2 separate regions of the Homo sapiens genome follow, and region 1 is linked to region 2. The links are contacts of gene promoters, found by promoter capture Hi-C in blood cells and fetal thymus (Javierre and others, 2016). All regions are on one chromosome and are shown on one strand. The core of a region is centred on a gene start or on the middle of the fragment in contact, and the rest is flanking DNA. Distances in the headings are between cores, read along the strand shown. Region 1 holds the start of NOTCH1 (notch receptor 1). Region 2 holds the start of RABL6 (RAB, member RAS oncogene family like 6).

Region 1 (3,135 bases), core at 508-3,007, 260 kb after region 2:
GTCGGCACAGCTGGGGCAGACCAGGGGAGACCCCCTATCCAGGGATCCCCTCCTCCCCTCCCAGGCCGCCCCTCCGCAAAATGCTGAGGACTGGCCCCCGGGCCTGGGCTACATGGGCCATTACTTCTGGCCTGGGGCCCACAGGCAGAGATGCCAATGGAGGCACACAGGCAGTCGCACCCGCACCCGATCAGCACCAGGCCTGAGGCCTTCGGGCCTCCCTATGCCCCACCCCACCCCCACCCACCAGGAGCAGAGGACGTCGTGGTGGGCAGAGTCCTCAGCCTGGGAGCTGCACAGCCCCGCGCTTCCTTCTATGGAAAATCTGCTCCTCCAGGCTGCCTGGCTGCTGTTACATAAACATCTCTGCTGCCTCCAGGCGCCTCCTCTCCTGGGGCGCTGACCCCAAGATGTTACCCCAGGCCTGCAGAAGTGAGGCCAGATTCTGGGAGGACGCAGGCGAGGGAGGCTCCCAGCAGCAGCTACAGGGGCGGGACAGGCCGCCTGCACTGGCTGTTTCCAGAGTGCTCAGCATTTGGCAAGAGGTGTGCCAGGAAAGGCTTGCTGGGGTCAGGTGTGAGATTTGTCCTGCTTTCTGTGCCTGCCTCTGCCACCATGCTCTGGGGTTTCTGCAGCCCTCCCCCCAGGCCCCCACAGTCCTAGGTCCCTCCCAGCCTTTCGGTCTCCCCGCAGGGCAGGCTTAGCCCTCCTACTCCAGGAGGGGCGCCGGGACACGCGCCTTCTGCCATCGCACTCACCACCCTGTGTTGGGGTGGGGAGGGGGCGCTGTCTGTCCCTGGCACGAGGCCGTGAACTTTGCGCAGGGACTATGGCAGGCATTTTGGACTCCTGGCGCTTAACCAGGCTTGGCACAGGGTGCCCGTGCCTGGCATCGTGGTGGAGAAATAAATCAGCCGGAAGGAGCACGTGGGAAGGGCTGCGCCGGCGCCAGCGGCAGATCCGCCCGACCCGTTTGTGCTTTCTGGGGCCACCTTAGGCAGGCGGCGCCCGGGCAGGAGGAGGACGGTGACCGAGGAGCGTGTCGACGCGGGTCCCCCTTGGGGGAGCGGGGCACAATCCGTCCGCGAGGCACTGGTCCCGGCTGCTCCCTCGGGGCGCCCGGAGTCCCCTGCCCAGAGGCCGCGGCGCCCCCATCCCTCGCGGTCAAGTGCTCGGGCAATCACGGCCAGGGATGTCTGGCGGCGATCGATCCTCTGGACGCCTAAAGCCGCGGCCACGGGGCCCTCGGGAGGGAGTGAAGCCGCTGGGCTAGGGGCGCACACACGGCTAGGCCACTCTCCCAGAGCCCTGCCCCGGGCCCGGGGTCCCCCAACGTGGCCTCAGCTGCTCCCCGCCCGGCCCAGCGCACGGTGCACACGGCTGTCCGCGGCCTCGCCCTCCCCATTCCGCCCCGGGCTCCTCCGCTTATTCACATGCAAATTTCAGTCGCCAGTTGTCGCCGAGCGCGGCAACCGCCAGAGCCGGATCCTTCCGCAGCCCCGGCTCAAACTTTTGGCCTCTGAAAACTTTCAAACGAGAAGTAGTCCCAGGCGCCCGCTCCCGACCCACGCCGCGCCGCCGGGTCCCTCCTCCCCGGAGAGGCTGGGCTCGGGACGCGCGGCTCAGCTCGGGGAGGCGCAAAGGCGGACGGGGCGTGCGGGAGGAGGTGGCCGCGGAGGGGGCGGGGGGACCGGCGGGGGTGGGGCCGGGCGGGGCGGGGCCGGCGGGGGCGGAGCGCACCTCGACTCTGAGCCTCACTAGTGCCTCGGCCGCGGGAGGGAGCGCAAGGGCGCGGGGCGCGGGGCGCGGGCGCGGGCGCGAGCGCAGCGAAGGAACGAGCCGGGCGCGGAGCCGGGCCCGGGGGCCTGCGAGAGCACAGCGCCGCCAGCCAGCCGGGGAAGAGAGGGCGGGACCGTCCGCCGCCGCCCCGGGACCGTACGCCGCGCGTGTGCGTCCCAGCCCCGCCGGCCAGCGCAGGAGGCCGCCGCCCGGGCGCAGAGGGCAGCCGGTGGGGAGGCATGCCGCCGCTCCTGGCGCCCCTGCTCTGCCTGGCGCTGCTGCCCGCGCTCGCCGCACGAGGTAGGCGCCCACCCACCCGCGAGCCCCCACTTTCCGCGCCCTTTGGAAACTTTGGCGGCGCCCGGCGCGCGCGCCCCACGGCTGGGAGCGGGCGGCGGGGAGGCCAGCATGGAGAGGGAAAAGCGGGCGGCCCGGGGCGTGGGGTTCTGGAGTCCCGGGATCAGGGAGGACCGACCTTCCCCCTCGATCCCCCCGTGGAGGCGGACTCGCGCCGCCCGTGCCTGGAGCCGAGTTAGGAGGCCGGTGTGGGGTGCTGGGGCCCCGGAGGCCCTACTCCGGGCCCGCCCTTCACCCGCCGCGCGTGGGGCTTGCCGCCGGTCGGCCGGGCGGGCGGGCTGCCTACTATTTTTCGATTTGAATAGAGTCGGTTTTGGTTTCCTGTTGCTTCTCCGGGCCATTTATCTTCTTTCTTCTTCGCCTCTGGCCCACGCCGGGGCGGATGTTGGGGCGCGGAGTGTGGGCTCTGCGGCGCCGCGTTCGCCTTCACTGACCCGCGCGGCCGGGCTGGGTCCCCGGGCTCCCGGTCGCCCCGCCCGCCGGTGCCCCCCAGCCCGGCTCTCAGTTTGGGGGAGGGGTTGCGTAAGAAGCCGCCGCGCCCGGGGGGACTGAACTTTCCTTTTGCTTTGCGGAGTTGAAGTTTGGAAAGCTTGGGGGCGGAGAGCGGGACGCGGGTGGGGGGCTCTTACATTTCTCCCCGCCGCACAGCGAGCGGGGTCTCTGGGGAATCGAGTGATTAATCCACTCTTTCTCCGAGAGTTGGAGGCGAGAATTATCTGTCCTCTTCCAGAAAGTGCGGCTCTGTGTCACACCCCCCTCCCCCGTTTCTCAGCCCCGGTAAGATGGGGAGGGAGGGGCTTGAGTAATTGATCCCTTCTCGAGATGGGGTCGAATTCCTTCCGAATGGGGGACCTTCATCCCCCTCCTGTGGGTGTATGGGGGCTGCCCTGGAGATGCGCGCCCGCGGAGGCAGGTATTGGGTGTCGGCGGAGGCGGGGCCGCGTCCCCAGGGTGCTGTCCCGGTGCCCCTGGAGGCGGCCCCGACTCCACAATGGGCCG
Region 2 (3,557 bases), core at 1,058-3,557:
CCAGGACCCTCGGGGAGCCTTTTCAGAAGGTGAACAGTTTCCAGGTCCAGGCCTGATTTCCCAGGGACTAATACTGAGCTTAGCCAATACTGTAAGCAATAAAATTAAATAAAGGATCCAAACGCAGAGTCTAAAAACTGGCGTAAACTCAGTTATTTTGACTCAATATTCTCTTCTCCGAATGCCAGCTATGTATAAAGTTTCAATTATAACACATTTAAAATCAGCTTTTATTTTTATTCAAAATGCACCACTTTATTTTCCTTACCAGACAGCCAAGCATTAAGCACGTTCCAGTCACGTGACTTCTTCAGCGAGCCCCCAGGCTTCCACTCCACGGGAGTCTGGGAGCTCCTGGACAGAGGAGTCCTGAGATTTCAAATAGTCAAGCCTTCTCCCCAGCCACAAGTTCCTTTGATGCTTGGGTTACTGAACACAAACGCAATGGATTGTTTGTCTTCAACATAATCCGTTTCTGTTCCTAAACGTGTTGGCTGCGCTTTCTTTCTGATGAGCACGCTGACTCTAATTTGAACTTCATCAAAATCTTCTTTGTCGTCGTATGTTCTAGAGTATAAGAAAAGCCAATACGGCCCTTGGTTCGGACATCAACTTTCTTTTAAATTTTTTTTTCGTATTTTTAGTAGAGACGGTGTTTCACTATGTTGGCCAGGCTGGTCTCGAATTCCTGACCTCGTGATCTGCCCGCCTTGGCCTCCCAAAGTGCTGGGATTACAGGCATGAGCCACCGTGCCCGGCCCGGACACCAACTTTCATACCTAGATGCTCAGACTTATCTTTAAGAAGTTGTTTTATCTTGCTTACTGCTAAAGGTGTCTGGGTGAGGGTGGCCCGAGTGGTCTGCAGCTTCCTCTTGCTCACAGGCCGGGGGACTAAGGAAGGCGACATCTTCACTGTCCTCCTGGACTAGCTCCAGCCCCAGGAACTACGGCCTCTCTCCGTGCACACGGCACGCGAATTCATGAACTTGCTTTTAAACCTGCACAAGAGTCTTTCTGATCATTAGTTCTTAAAATTCTACATTACCATGGAAATATCACGGAGGCTCTAAGGCTCCCCTTAAAGTGACCAAAAAACTGGATAGGCGTAGCGTCCTAAAACCTCATAGAAACATACGGAAATGGCTAAGAGGGAAGCAATGTCAAAACAGGGAACCACATAAAAGCTTTCAAAAACTACTGGGAAAGAGCCCGCAAGATGGAAAAACTCATAAGAGGTCGAGGACAATTTACACAATTTATAACAAAGGAATGGAGCGTCCCAGGCACTCAGGAGTCCGTAAATGACTCCTCCTTCCTACGAGAAATGGGATGTCTCCTACAGTCGCAAGTCAGCCCGTGCCTTCTGGAGCTTTTCTAGATACGTCTCTTACAAACGCTTCTTTTAAAAAAAAAGGCGAGAATGTGTGGCGTAGCTAATATTCTGTCTTCAAACTCAGTAGGAAGTCAACAAAGAAAAATCCCGCTGAAAGCGCCAAGGCCGGCTGGGTTCCCCGCACCTCCTGCAGGTGAGTGGTGCCCGGGGCTGGGCACCGTGGAGCGTCGGGGGCGCGGCGCCCCGGGCCGGCGGGCCCTGCTTGGCATTATGTAATCACCCCCGGGCCGGGCAGCCGGGCCAACCCCGCCGCCGCCGACCCGCTCCACTGCACAGCGCGGCGGGAGCGACACGCGGCAGGCGAGTGCGGCTGGGAAACGACCCGCGGCTCGGGGGCCGCGAGGACCCGGCCCTGGCCTGGCCTCTCCTCGCGTCCCCTGGCCCGCGCCCCCGCTCCCGGAGCGCCCGGCGGGCCCAGCGCACCCCACAACCGGCAAGCAGGTGAGACCGACACCCACCACCGCGCGGCGCCCGGGGCCTGGGTTCGGAGACCCGCGCGGCGCTCCCGCGCCCCCCCGGCCCGCCGCACTCACTGTTGTACTGCACCCCCTTGGCGAAGCGCCTCTGCAACGCCTGGTTCATGGACTGCAGCCCGGCGGGGATGTTCTTGTCCCGGCCCGGGGCCTGGTCCGACCCCACCAGCTTCTTCAGGGCGGAAAACATCTTCCCGCTCGGACGTCCCAGCCCGGGCGCGGCCGGCGAGCTCAGCGGCGGCGGGGAAGGGGTGCGACTGGCACCATGTCCCGGCGGCCCCGGCCCCCCCGGAGGCCGGAGCCGGCGCGGCCAGAGGCCGGGGTCCCGGCGGCGGAGCGCAGCCCCGAGCGGCGACTCGGGAACCTCAGCCGCGGCTGCTCCGCTCCGGCCCCCGCGGCCTCCGGCGCGACCGCTCTCCAGGAGTCAGCGCCGCCATCTTGGCGCCGGCTCGGCGGGACGGGAGGGGTGCGCGGCTACGGGGCGCCGCGAGGGCCGCGGGGGCGCGGCGCGCGCGGTCGGCGCATGCGCACGCGGTTCTGGCGCGCAGTTCCGGGCCCGGGCTGCCTCCTTACGCAGAACCTCCCCCGATCCTGCGTGTCCCGTGCTCCTCTCCGAGACCCCGGTCGCCCCAGCGTCCGCAGCAGTCCTGGAAAAATGTTTATTTGTGTAGCAAAGCAGGGAGCGGGGCGGCGGGGCTACTTCTTCTTTTTCTTGGCCGCCTTGAGCTTCCCCTCGATTAGCCGCTGCGCCTGCCTCTTGATCTCGGCGCGCGAAGGGACGTAGCTGTGGTCCATGTCGGGGAACTGGAAGGTGTCTGCGGGCGGAGGCGGCGGCTCGCACACGGGGCTAGCCCAGCTAGGCGCAGCCGCCCGACCCGCCTCTCGCCCCCGCCCTCCACCGACCCGGGCCAGGTGCCTTGCCCCAGGGACAGCCCCAGCGTGCCGGGAGGACTCAGCCCAGCCCATTCGCAGCGGCTCACGCTGCCCTGCCTAGCCTTTCCCGCAGAACCCCCAGTGGAAGCTCCGGCCCAGGCCTTCACCGCGCTCCTCCCTGCTCCAGCCCTGGTGCCTCTCCTCCGGGCCCGTCTGGCATGGCATGCCTCCTCCTTTCGGAGAAATTAACAAGGTATTTCAGTGGCTTTAGCCTCCCCATGGCATCACTAAGTCACCTCCATCAATTAAAGTCCTGCAGGTACAACTGATGCACCCTGTAGCCCCGCTGTCCCTCCAGGATGTCCCGGTGGGATGGGAGCCGGCGCCACCCCGACCTGTGTTCCAGCCACCCGCCTGCAGCCCGGGCCCCAGTTCCGGGGCCTGTACCGATCATATCCTCCTCCCGGTTCTCAAAGCTGATCCTGGTGTTGTACTTCTCCATCAGAGTCGAGGACTCCAGGGTGTCCCTCACCTTTGTGTCGCCCTGCAGGGCAAAGCCCCCTTCAGCCGTGCAGACACTCTGAACGGGAGCCTGTCAGCTTTGAGGGGACGTGGGCTGTGCAGGTTCCTCCCAGCCCGGGGCTACCTCCTCGGTCCTGGACACCATCTGCACTCTGTCAGCCAGGTACGTGAGCTTCCCCTCGCAGTACGCCAGCTTGCTGTTCAAATCGAGGGTGTTGGAGAGCACCACTTCTCTCTGTAGGCCGGGAGGAGGGTCTCATCTCCCCTCTGGCCCTGCCCAGGGACCTGGTGTGT

What was found. The method cuts DNA at HindIII sites, captures the fragments that hold promoters and counts their contacts. A CHiCAGO score of 5 or more calls a contact.
Region 1: the fragment with the promoter of NOTCH1 here is called in contact with the fragment with the promoter of RABL6 in region 2 in 1 of 17 cell types (fetal thymus); the score reaches 5.2 in fetal thymus.

What each region holds. Positions count from the first base shown.
Region 1 is chr9:136,544,670-136,547,804 of GRCh38, reverse strand. NOTCH1 (notch receptor 1) reads left to right here and starts at 1,757. Exons shown (of 34, transcript NM_017617.5): 1 at 1,757-2,079. The coding sequence starts at 2,019. MIR4674 (microRNA 4674) reads left to right here and starts at 1,546; the gene lies at 1,546-1,632. RefSeq lists enhancers at 1-900, 2,873-2,922 and silencers at 1,093-1,192, 1,533-2,092, 2,113-2,372, 2,593-2,642. The HindIII fragment of the contact is 3,030 bases long and covers 1-2,727 here.
Region 2 is chr9:136,806,698-136,810,254 of GRCh38, reverse strand. RABL6 (RAB, member RAS oncogene family like 6) reads right to left here and starts at 2,307. Exons shown (of 15, transcript NM_024718.5): 1 at 1,929-2,307. The coding sequence starts at 2,058. It overlaps CCDC183 (coiled-coil domain containing 183), which reads right to left. Exons shown (of 14, transcript NM_001039374.5): 12 at 3,388-3,498; 13 at 3,189-3,285; 14 at 2,514-2,683. The coding sequence ends at 2,565. CCDC183-AS1 (CCDC183 antisense RNA 1) reads left to right here and starts at 1,407. Exons shown (of 5, transcript NR_024580.1): 1 at 1,407-1,528; 2 at 3,053-3,426. It also overlaps the pseudogene LOC100422233. RefSeq lists silencers at 1,496-2,025, 2,036-2,165, 2,186-2,245, 2,296-2,465, 2,666-2,895 and enhancers at 2,171-2,767, 2,768-3,363. The HindIII fragment of the contact is 3,360 bases long and covers 1,189-3,557 here.